Linked DNA regions of Homo sapiens: regions 2, 3 and 4 are each linked to region 1. Evidence: promoter capture Hi-C in 16 types of primary human blood cells and fetal thymus (Javierre and others, 2016). All regions are on one chromosome and are shown on one strand. Each heading gives the region's core, a stretch centred on a gene start or on the middle of the fragment in contact. The rest is flanking DNA. Distances are from core to core; before and after follow the strand shown. Region 1 holds the start of WLS (Wnt ligand secretion mediator). Region 2 has its middle 100 kb from the start of WLS. Region 3 overlaps WLS (Wnt ligand secretion mediator). Region 4 overlaps WLS (Wnt ligand secretion mediator).

The links. The method cuts DNA at HindIII sites, captures the fragments that hold promoters and counts their contacts. A CHiCAGO score of 5 or more calls a contact.
Region 2: a contact is called between a fragment that was not itself captured here and the fragment with the promoter of WLS in region 1, in 1 of 17 cell types (monocytes). The highest score is 6.6, in monocytes.
Region 3: a fragment that was not itself captured here is called in contact with the fragment with the promoter of WLS in region 1 in 1 of 17 cell types (endothelial precursors); the score reaches 5.6 in endothelial precursors.
Region 4: a contact is called between a fragment that was not itself captured here and the fragment with the promoter of WLS in region 1, in 1 of 17 cell types (endothelial precursors). The highest score is 5.1, in endothelial precursors.

Annotation. Positions count from the first base shown.
Region 1 is chr1:68,231,034-68,234,036 of GRCh38, forward strand. It overlaps WLS (Wnt ligand secretion mediator), which reads right to left and starts at 1,490. Exons shown (of 12, transcript NM_024911.7): 1 at 1,161-1,490. The coding sequence starts at 1,266. The HindIII fragment of the contact is 11,043 bases long and covers 1-3,003 here.
Region 2 is chr1:68,334,154-68,337,265 of GRCh38, forward strand. No RefSeq gene overlaps it. Among named protein-coding and RNA genes, the nearest start is that of WLS, 100 kb to the left of the region's middle. The HindIII fragment of the contact is 9,371 bases long and covers 1-3,112 here.
Region 3 is chr1:68,166,747-68,169,446 of GRCh38, forward strand. All of the region lies in intron 2 of WLS (Wnt ligand secretion mediator), which reads right to left. All of the region lies in intron 9 of GNG12-AS1 (GNG12, DIRAS3 and WLS antisense RNA 1), which reads left to right. Among named protein-coding and RNA genes, the nearest start is that of MIR1262, 16 kb to the right of the region's middle. The HindIII fragment of the contact is 868 bases long and covers 990-1,857 here.
Region 4 is chr1:68,129,808-68,132,619 of GRCh38, forward strand. The region is part of intron 11 of WLS (Wnt ligand secretion mediator); the gene reads right to left. The region is part of intron 8 of GNG12-AS1 (GNG12, DIRAS3 and WLS antisense RNA 1); the gene reads left to right. Among named protein-coding and RNA genes, the nearest start is that of MIR1262, 52 kb to the right of the region's middle. The HindIII fragment of the contact is 1,525 bases long and covers 653-2,177 here.

The DNA.
Region 1 (3,003 bases), core at 240-2,739:
TTAACAAAGCCGTGAAGTAAGGAAACCGAACCTCCCGTCCGCGCCCGCTGCAAAGTTGGCATTGAAGTTTGTGCCGGGATGTCCCAAATCTTGAGGGGGCGGGGGGCGCGAGTGTGCAGAGAGGCGGGAGGATGGATGCAGATGGGGAGACAGTGAGGGGAAGGGAGTTTTTCCGAGTGGACGGTCCGTGAGGCGGTTTTCTTCACCCGGAAGCCTGTTTGACTCAGAGAGGTCCGGGAGGTGCACGCCAGGGGAGGTCTCCCGGGGCGGGCGCTGTCGCCGAGGAGGCCGGCGAGCTGTCACCTGCGGGGGGCTGTGGTGGGAGCTGAGGGCGCTCTCCTAAGCGCCAAAAGAGGACGGGGACATTCACAGTCACCGGCTCTCGGGGCTCTAAGTAGTGGGGGAAGGGATATTCACGAGTGGGCAGGAGGCCAAAAGCAACACCTTTCGGATACGCTTTTCCCCTCCGACCTCTCCAACTTCCCGCGGCGCTGGTCAAGGACTCCCTCCCACCCCACCCCATCCCACCCAACCTCCCGGCCGACAATTCGGACCTGTCCACGGCAGAGCGTGGGGTGGAGTGCGGCGGGAAAGCAGAGGGCGCGAAGGTCGGGACCCCAAATTGCAAACCCTCAGCCCCTAGCAAAGACGACCAAATGCATTTACAACCGTGCAAGTATCTCAGCCTTGTAACAGAGCTCCGGGTTTGCGCCGGGCACAGTTCCCCGACTCTTCTGTTGTTCCTAATAAAGTCGATTACGTTGCCCTCCCGGAGCTGATTGGAAGGGAACCGAGAGGAAAAGGGGGGGAACGCGGGAAAAAGCGGGGGGGGGGGGGGGCGAGCAATCAACTTTGTAACCCAGCGCTTCCTCGCGCGATCCGTCGCCATGCTTAAGATTCCCACCCCCGCCGCCCCCCTCTTGCCTTTCAAGTGGATACTGAAACTAGGCCAAAACTTTTTCCCCTCCTTTTCTCTTAGCCACTAGACTGGATTGTGCCCCACGGAGCCCCATGGAGCTCTGCTTTCTTAAGCACAATAGCCGGACTAATTAGATCATAGAAGCAAGGCAGTGATACTGTAACAAGTAGCCCAAGAGGCAAAGAGGGAAGGGGCCCGAAAAGACAGAAAGGGGGAAAAGTTTGCAGCTCTCCGCACTTACCAATCAAGCCTCCCACCAGAAAGGCGATGATTTGGAACACGAGCAGAATCCCACCAACAATGCACAGCTTCTTGGTGCTCATGTTTTCTATAATTGCCCCAGCCATTTTTGCGCCCCCCCTTTTTCTTTTCTCCTTGAAATAAATGTTTTAGGGTGAGCTTTTTGCTCCCTCCTCTCACACACTCCCTCCTTCCTCGCCTCCTTTCTGGGCGCTGCAAAACTTCAGAGGTGCTGGAGCGCGGCGAGGATGGGACCGGGACGGAAGGCGCCCGCACGGATTCCCCCGGCGCAGCCGGCTCGGGTTCCCCCAATGCCCGGAGCTGTGATTGTGGCCGCTCCGCCGCCTGTGGACGCTTAAAGGAGCAGGGAAGCGGATCACATGACGCCGCCTCCCTCCCTTTCTTCCTCCCTCCCTCTCGCGCTTCCTCCCTCCCTCCCTCCCTCTCTTCCTCTACCCCTTGCCCACCAGTTCGGGGCTCAGAGCTCTGGCGGGTGCTGGCGCCTGGCTCCCGAGTCTGGCCTGCAACCTGTCTCTCCAAGGTCTGATGCCATTTAGGGGTTGCTGTTGATGTTAAGCGGGTTCCCCCTGCCCAGCTTCTCACAGGTTTCCTTTTCTGGTTTCCGAAGTGCGAGATTTAAATCACCGGTGGACCGCCTTGCAGACCTTTAACTTACGCGTTGACTTTAGGAAATGGTCCCCACCCCACCCCCAACTGCTAGAACTCTCTTTAGGAAAGAGGAGGAGAATTTTTTTTAAAAGGACCCAATAGATGCCTAAGTCAAAACACAGAGATGCGGAATAAAGTCTCAGCTCGACTTCTTTCTACCAGATTCCCAGCCTCGGTTATTGGGCACATACCCAGCTAAATTCCCCACGGCGCCCCTTGAGGAAACTTGCTCTCCAGCCAAATCAGACCACTGTTCGTTACTCCAGCACATGTGCTTCCACAGCCTTAACCCTGGTTATTGCCTTAAAGAGAACATGTTCTACTCCATCAATGTTAAACCTGATCCAAAACCAACTAGTGTTAAAAAATCTTTCTAATTTTCCACACCACCTCCATGCAGTATCTCTGGGAACTGAGCCCCTACAATCCTGTATTTACATTTTTACCTCCTATTGTAAGGATTTGTGTACACGTTTGTCTCCACCACTGAGCTGTAAACTCCTGGGGAATAGGGACCAAGTTTTTTTTGTTCTTTGTACCCCCCATGGTGCCTAACAAAATGCTAGCTCTAGTAGGTGCCCCATAATCTTTTGTGGAATGAATAAGTGAATGTGAAAGCAAGCCCACAGTTTGTATTTCAAAGGTCTAAAGAGATCTTAGTTGGTTTAGAGGGTACCTATATTAAGTTACAATGTTTGTTGTCTCTTTGTGAGAAATCATATATTTATATTTATACTTAACTTCCATAAAAAGAGGGGCGGGGCTCCCGATAGAGATTTCCTGCTCTATCAAGCCTAAATTTCTGGGCCTGGTTTTTCCATGTTTCATAAACTGGCCGCTTGGCCAGTACAACTCACCTTACTCAATAGACCCTTGGTTTGGTAAATACCCCACCCTGCTCCCCAAACGTGCAGTTTCTACCACCACCACCCACACATCTTGTTTCTTGTCCCTCCCATCCTTACACACCCTCTTCATGCCAAGAGACTATTTTTCCCAGTCCTCTCTCCTCCTCTACTCTGTTCCTGAATTTTCATTGCCCTTATAAAAGATGTCATGCAGGTTACACTTAATAGAAGCATTCATTTCTAATCTCCAAATAGAACAGAGACTTGTCAAGGACAAGCACCAAACTTTATGCATACAAAACTCCATCTCTTCAACATCTAATAGTT
Region 2 (3,112 bases), core at 474-2,973, 100 kb after region 1:
AGGAGTACATTCCTTTCCGTTGAGGAACCTGCTTTAGCACATCATTGTTACCAAAAGTCCATGTCACCCAGGTAGTGAGCGTAGTACCCAATAGGTAGTTTTTCAGCCCCTGCCCCCAACTTTTTCTTTCCTATCTAGTAGTCCCCAATGTCTCTTGTTCCCATCTTTATGTCCATGTGTACCCAATGTTCGGCCCCCACTTACAAGTGAGAACATGTGGTATTTGGTTTTCTGTTCCTGTGTTAATTTACTTAGGATAATGCCTTCCAGCTGCATCTATATTGCTGCAAAGGACATGATTTTTTTTAATGGCTGTGTAGTATTCCATGGTGCATATGTATAACATTTTCTTTCTTTTCGTTTTTTTTTTGACAGGTTCTCACTCTGTCACTCAGGTTGGAGTTCAGTGGCATGATCAGAGATCACTTTAACCTCAAACTCCTGGGCTCAAGCAATCCTCCTGCCTGAACCTCCCAAATAGCTACAGGCATGCACCACCACACCTAGCTAATTTTTAAATTTTTTGTGAGGATGGGGTTCTCACTATGTTGCCCAGTTTGAGCCCAGGTCTTGGATTCTGGGCTCAAGCAATCCTCTCACCTCAGCTTCCCAAAGTGCTGGGATTACAGGTGTGAGCCACCATGTCAGGCTGACCACATTTTCTTTATCCAGTCCACTGTTGATGGGCATCTAGGTTGATTCCATGTCTTTGCTATTGTGGATAGTGCTGCAATGAACGTACAAATGCATGTGTCTTTTTTTCTAGAATAATTTATCTTCCTTTGGGTATATACCCAGTAATGGGATTGCTGGGTCAAATGGTAATTCTGTTTTAAGTTCTTTGAGAAATCTCTAGACTGCTATCTACAGTGGCTGAACTAATTTACATTCCCACTAACAACGTGTAAGTGTTCTCTTTTCTTCACAGCCTTACCAGCATCTGTTATTTTTGGTCTTTTTAATAGCCATTCTGACTGGTGTAAGTTGATATCTCATAGCAGTTTTGATTTGCATGTCTCTGATGATTAGTGATGTTGAGCATTTTTTCATATGTTTGTTGGCTGCTTTTATGTCTTCTTTTGAGAAGTGTCTCTTCATGTCCTTTGCCCACTCTTCAATGTGCTTATTCGTTTTTTGCTTATTGAGTTGTTTATGTTCCTTATAGATTCCGGATATTAAAACTGTGTCAGATGCATGGGTTATGAATATTTTCTCCCATTCTATATATTGTCTAATTACCCTGTTGATAGTTTTTCTTGATATGCAGAAACTCTTTAGTTTAATTAGGTCCTACTTGTCAATTTTTGTTTTTGTTGTAATTGCTTTTAAGGACTTAGCCATAGATTTTTTGCCAAAGCCGATGTCGAGAAGGGCAACTCGTATTCTTTCTTCCAGGGTTATTATAGTTTGAGGTCTTGCATTTAAATCTTTAATCCATCTTGAGTTAATTTTTGCATATGGTAAAAGATAGGGGTCCAGTTTCCTCCTTCTGCATATGGCTAGCCAGCTAACCCAGCACCATTTATTGAATAGGGAATCCTTTTGTCTTTTTTTTTTTTTTTTTTTTTTGAGATGGAGTCTCGCTCTTTTGCCCAGGCTGGAGTGCAGTGGCACGATCTCAGCTCACTGCAACCTGCACCTCCTGGATTCAAGCAATTCTCCTGCCTCAGCCTCCTGAGTAGCTGGGATTAAAAGCATACGCCACCATGCCTGGCAAAATTTTGTATTTTGTTTTTAGTAGAGATGGGGTTTCACCATGTTGGCCAGGCTGGTCTTGAACTCCTGACCTTGTGATCCACCCACTTCAGACTCCCAAAGTGCTGGGATTACAGGAGTGAGCCACTGTACCCGGCCGGGAGTCCTTTTCTCATTGTTGGTTTTTGTCAGCTTTGTTGATGGTCAGATGGCTGTAGATGTGAGGCTTAATTTTGGGCTCTCTATTCTGTTCCATTGGTCTATATATCTGCTCTTGTACCAGTACCATGCTATTTTGGTTACTGTAACCTTATAGTAGTTTGAAGTCAGGTAATGTGATACCTCTGGCTTTGTTCTTTTTGCTTCAAAGTTATTTGGTTATTTGTGCTCTTTTTTGATTCCATATCAATTTAAATTTTTTTTCTAAATCTGAAAAAAAAGATGTTGGTAGTTTCGTAAGGATAGCATTGAATCTGTAGATTGCTTTAAGCAGTATAGCTATTTTAACAATATTGATTCTTTCAATCCATGGGCATGGACTGTTTTTCCATTTATTTGTCATCTGTAATTTCTTTCAGCAATGTTTTGTAGCTCTCCTTATAGAGATCTTTTACCTCCTTGGTTAGATGTATTCCTAAATATTTTATTTTTGTGTGTGGCTATTGTAAATGGAATTGTGTTCTTGATTTGGCTCTCAGCTTGAATACTACTGGTGTATAGAAATGTTGCTGATTTGTATTCATTGATTTTGTATCCTGAAACTTTACTGAAGTTATTTATCAGTTCTAGGAGCCTTTTGACAGAGTTTCTTGGGTATTGTAGGTATAGAATCATATCAACAGAAAACAGAGATAATTTGACGTCTTCATTTTTTATTTGAATGCCTTTTACTTTTTTTCTCTTGCCTGATTGCTCTCGTTCAGACTTCCAGTACTATGTTGAATAGGAGTGGTGAAAGTGGGCATCCTTGACTTTTTCCTGTTCTTATGGGAAATGCTTCCAGCTTTTGCTTATCAGGGAAATTTTTAAAATGCTACTTACATTTGTGGGCCAATTGGCTTAATTAAGAAAATGTGAGTTTCAAGTCAAGGCTAAGTGAAAAAAAAAAAAAGAAAGAAAAAGAAAATAGTGCTTAATTTGCCTTCTCTCTCACTCTCTCAGGCTTTTCTGCCTGCCACAAAACTAGTTTAGTAGTGCAATGAGCACCAAACCTGGAGTTAGTCCAGAGTTAAAACCTCAAGTTCTGCCACTTCCTAGTCATGTGACCTTTCAGCTCAGACATTATACTGTTGTTGCTTGTTTTCCATCACCATAAGTTTGATATCGGTCTTTTTCCTGCTTCTTTTCTTTCTTTCTTTCTTTCTTTTTTTTTTTTTTTTTTTTTTGAGACGGAGTCTTCCTCTGTCGCCAGGCTGGA
Region 3 (2,700 bases), core at 174-2,673, 64 kb before region 1:
TTAAAATTATAGCATGTTCTGCCGTCTCTTCACGTTACCATCTCCTTACTTCCCGTGCAATCTGAAGCAGAGGTGTTATTCCTGTTTATGAGGTGAAGACGCCATAACTCAGAAAGCCCTACCCTAGAAATACCAGACTCAGGACCCTAGAGCTTCATAGCCAATAGTCTCATAGCATCCTGCCATCTTTTATGATGTACATAAAAAAATAGAAATCACAGGGAGAATGGCCTGTTCAAGTGACCTTTACTAGACTGTGATATCACTCCTCACCCCCAGACAGATAGCACACATGAGGTAGCACAGGTCAATCTTAGCAGACCTGGTTCCTTACCTGTTAGGATAAGACTTAACGCCTAGAATTTCATGATTATTACACTAGTTACTGCATGAAAAATGCTCAAGACAGAGCAGAAAGCATGAAGGGTAAGGTATTGTTGTTGACATTTTATTAGGGAAGTGAAACTCTTATCCTTAATTCAAAATAATTACCAGGTTTCAGGAACATGGAGCTTCCCACTATGAATCCCTAATCCAAACCTAGATCACAAAACCCAGAAACGGGAAAGCACTGGACAGAGGAATACAGTAAAACTGCGAAGCTGGTTACCTGAATTGTTTTCTCTTCTGCCTCCAGTGGACTTGGAAATAAAGTTCAGCATTAATGATGATGTTGCATTTAATAAAACACTGGTTTCATGACTCCTGGGATACTGTGTGGGCAATACTTCCCCTCCACCCTCCAGAGATAATGAAGGCGAGGAATCCAATTTGAACTCCCTGGGAGAATGGCAGGAAGGCTAAGCTACATTTGGCACTATATTAGAACTTTCCCTATAAAACAAGGACACTGGTTATATCAGTTTCATGGGGGTACAGTTGTAAGGTATCAGCATAGGGCATTTATAGATTTGAAATCCATGGTTTTCCATACCTATACTATACCAGCAGCTTTGGTATAGAAGCCCATAGGTCCTATGGGCTAGCCAAGCTTCACATTTCTCAAATAGCTTTGGAGACATATTTTAGTTGGGTGGAGAATTCATTCAGAGGAGGAAGGGAAGTGTGGAAAGGCACTGTCGTTCGTTACACTTACTATTTCCATCCTGTTATGGGGGCAGTTTCCCCTATGCTCCAGGGTTCCATAGGAGCAGACCTAGACTGCAAAGTGTGGTTACAGACAGAAAGATCCATGCCTTTCCATGTTGGGAAGCATCAACTAATTGTATCCTTAGGAAGTCTGTCTCTATACCAGTTATACTGCCCTGCCCTGCTTGAGAAAAGCAAAGCCAATCAGTTTTTCTGCAGGCAAGTGGAAAGTCAGAGAGGAGGGCAAGTACCTTCTATAAGCCAGAAATGGTGGGAGGGGGGTGCTAGAAATCGCTAGGAAAGAGGTCTAGTGTCCCCAAGAAATCTAGGGCAGCTGCTTAATGTAAGAATGGTCCCTGGGGTGGGAATGTGGGGAGAAGGAAAAGCAATGAAAAGGCCACTAGAGCCTTAATTGAGGAAGACATCAGAATGCTTGTCACCTAAGCTCTACACCTTCTATATTTGAAACAGGTATTTCCCAGCCAGGATAGTACAAAGTGTATAAATTGGGCACCAAATGGATGTGATTTTGAATTCTCCTTTTATGACTTCCCACCTGAACAACCTTGAATAAGTCTCAGTTTCCACCTTTGCAGTATGGAAACAGTGGGAACTACTCCCTAAGTCTGTTAACCAATACCAGTTCCTTCTCCATCTAGTCCCAGGGTGGCTGGGTTATATTGTTGACCTATTAACTGGAATAAAAGGGGAAAAAGGAGAGGACAAGATATATTAGAGGAAATCAGGAATGATTTTATGGTTGTCAAAAGCTTTTAGGTTCCTAGAGACACTTTGACTTTCCTGGGCCTTTGCCCTGGGAAAAAAATTAAAGAGGTTTCAATGCTCGTGTGCATTCCCACATTACATAGGGGAGCTGCCAGTCACCAGAGTTTGTTTGGGTAACCTCAGAAAGAGGCCACAGAGACAAATCTCCTCCCAGCCTCTGGCAGACATATAATCTGGAGTTATTTATGCCAGCATTCCTTCCCCAATAAAAAACTCTCTGACCTGGCTTGAATTTTTCTTGACGCTTTCAATTAAGGAAATAACAAAACCAACCCTGTCTTATACATGGTTAGGTCTGGCAAAAATGGACTCAGCTAATTACAAATTTGGCCCTGGCGGTTTTCTTAAGATGCCCTACAGGCCTGGGTGTGAGTGGTTATAAAAATGAATGAGTACAATTATTTTGCAAACCAGCCTAACAGTTTAGTTCACATTGCTTCTCGTCTTTCCTCATCAAATCAAGCATTTGAATTGCAGAGAATTATCTTCCACATGTAAGAAAACATATTTCTAAGCATTGCAAAACTGGTTCCTTGCTGTATTCTGATGCATTATCATCTGGTTGAAGTCACATATCTGTCTATGGAACATGACAAGGACAAGGGAGAACGGTGCTCACATTAGGTTCTCTTCAAAGTGACATGCAGTTAGAAAACATCCACTTACCCCTATTGTAGCCAAGGCTACTAGTACTTAAATGCTATACCACTGAAAAAGTAAGTGGAGACATCAATTTTTTTAAATAAATGAATCTGAAGTACCACCGAATATAGAAAAAAACCATATCTATTGTTCACCAGGTTGGAGAGTAGCTCTTTCCTCATC
Region 4 (2,812 bases), core at 165-2,664, 100 kb before region 1:
CCATCTCAGACAAGAAAAAACCCTTCTGAAAATGTGATATGTGTCTTGGGGTGAAAAAGAGTGAGAAAGAAAAAAGAAAAGAATGCTTTAGTTTGCAGTAAATTTCTCTCCCTGGTTATGATGTCAAATTCATCACAGCTCATTAACAATTAGATGACGGTCTATTTCTTCCTAACCTTGTGAAATGAGACCAATCTCTGGCACAGATTTCATCCCAAAGGACTACGGCAATGCATCCATATGTGTGGAGTCACATCCACAGGTGTGTAAGCGGCTGCTTGGTTGTAACTGCCTGGAATGCCTAATGAGGATGAAGAAAGCCATATGCACTGGAGACAGCTTCTTAGGACCGGCAGCATTTTAATGACAATTGTTTGTGTATCTGTGCCCACTTCAATAAAAATGACAACAGCTACTCTCATTCTGAGGATGTATTACAGATTCCGGGAGAGATCGGAGGTACCACTAGAGGTCTTCTAATATTAATAAGGCCTACGTACTTCCATCCTCACCACTACCAATGCAAATTAACACCCCACTGCCCAAGTGTGAAAGCCAGGGAGCTCCCATACCATGAGTTCATATTTGTTCTCAAGGTCATACACAATGTGTGCCGGAGCCAAGATTCCAAACCATCTGTGTCTACCTCCAAAGCTTATGTTCTTTCCAGAACATTCATGACCTATCCTTTTTTGTAGAATTTTCCCTAGGCCCACACCAACCTCTCTCCTATTCACCTTCAAAGCTAAGTTCAAATGATAACTTTTTGTAACGAAGTCTCTGGTTCACAGCAGAATGAGAAAAACAGAAAAGTGTAGTATTTTAAAGCCAAATTATTTTCATGCAAAGAACTGCTTAAGAATATGTCTGCCTTACATTTTTGGTGTTAATATGATTGTTATGTTAAAGAACAAAATAGTGTCGCTGGTGCAGTGGCTTACATCTGTAATCCCAGCACTTTGGGAGACAGAGGCAGGAGGACCACTTGAGCCCAGGAGCTGGAGACCAGCCTGGGCAACATAGAAAGATCTTAACCAAAAGAAAAAATAATAATAAAATGGTGAATGGTAGGTTTCTTCTTCTTTTTTTTTTTTTTTTTTTTTTTAGATGGAGTCTTGCTCTGTCACCCAGGCTGGAGTGGAGTGGAGCGATCTCAGCACTGCAACCTCCGCCTCCAGGGTTCAAAGAGATTCTCCTGCCTCAGTTTCCTGAGCAGCTGGGACTACAGGCGCATGCCACCATGCCCAGCTAATTTTGTGTGTGTGTGTGTGTGTGTGTGTTTTTAAGTAGAGACAGGGTTTCACCGCATTAGCCAGGATGGTCTCGATCTCCTGACCTTGTGATCCACCTGCCTTGGACTCCCAAAGTGCTGGGATTACAGGCGTGAGCCACCGCACCTGGCCTTTTTTTTTTTTCCAAAGAAAGTAAATACCCAGGACAGTATGTGGTATATAGTAAGTGCTCAAAACACCCATGAAAGATTTGCCTGGTGCAGGCAAGGGCAGTTCCTCTGTACTCTGCATGGCTGGGTCTAGCCTAGCATATCGGCACTGGTGTTCTTCCCCACTGGCATTTAGGAAAACACCCTCAGTTAGAAAACAAGTGTGCCTTGGGATAGCTCAGCTTTGAGGATCCCTTCTGGGAGATGGGGCAGAGTGGCTTTGGTGGACAGGGTTAAGAGCCCTGGGTCCAGTTGTCTCTCGGTGCCTGTCAACCCCAGAGGTCATTTATTCCAGGCTTGGAGCGAGCCATTGCCCATGGACCTCCAAAGCACCTCCTGACACTTACTGCCAGGCAGTAACTGCAAGTGGGAGAAGAACACAATAGAACTTATTAGTTTGGGGGTAAAATCTTGGTGTTACAGGCTGAATTGTATCTCCCCCAAACTCTCAAATTCATATATTGAAGTTCTAACCCCTAGAACCTCAGAATGTGACTGTGTTTAGAGATAGGGCCTTCTTAAAGAAGTAATTAAGTTAACAATGAGGTCAATTGGGGATGGGCCCTACTCCAACAGACTGGTGTCCTTTGAAAGAAAAGGAGATTAGAATATAGATATACACAAAGGGAAGACCACGTGAAGACACAGGGAGAAAGTATCCATCTACAAGCCAGACAGAGAGGTCTCGGAAGAAACCCACGTTGGTGATACCTTAATATCAGACTGTGAGAAAACAAGCTTCTGTTGTTTAGGACACCCTGTCTGTAGTATTCGTATAGCAACTCTAGCAAACATTTAGGAAGCCGAAGGTTCTTCCCAAGAAGGTAACTGAGATGTCCCTATCATGGTGGGGTGACAAGAATTCTAAGACTCAGAAAAAATGATTTTAATTGACTGGGCCAGGAAAGGTCAGGTCACTGGCACAGCAATAGCCCTGGGAGAGGCAGGGGGCAGAAGACACCTGATTACAAACAGCTGAGCAAGGGGTGCCAGGCTGGTGACGGTCCATCAGTTGGTTCCCACCTTCACTGGGGAATGGGAAAACGCTTTTAAGACCTGCTTTAGGGTCTGGGTCCAGCCCGTGTGACAAGACCAATCCCATCAGTGCTCACAGACATCAAGAAGCTCAGCTGGCCATGGGCAGATCATCTAATGTACAATCAGGGAGATGGCGTCAATAAAAGGGGGCAACCAATGTCAGGGCCTCAGGACTTAATCCAACGCTTTACCGAGGCAACAAAGCCAAAGCCATCTTTCCTATGAAACAAGGGGCAGGAGACCTCAGAAACCTCCAGGAGTAAAACTGACATCACACTGTAGCTAGCTGCCAAGACGCGGAACCAGTGTTGCCGCTTTTGCTCCCCGCAGAGT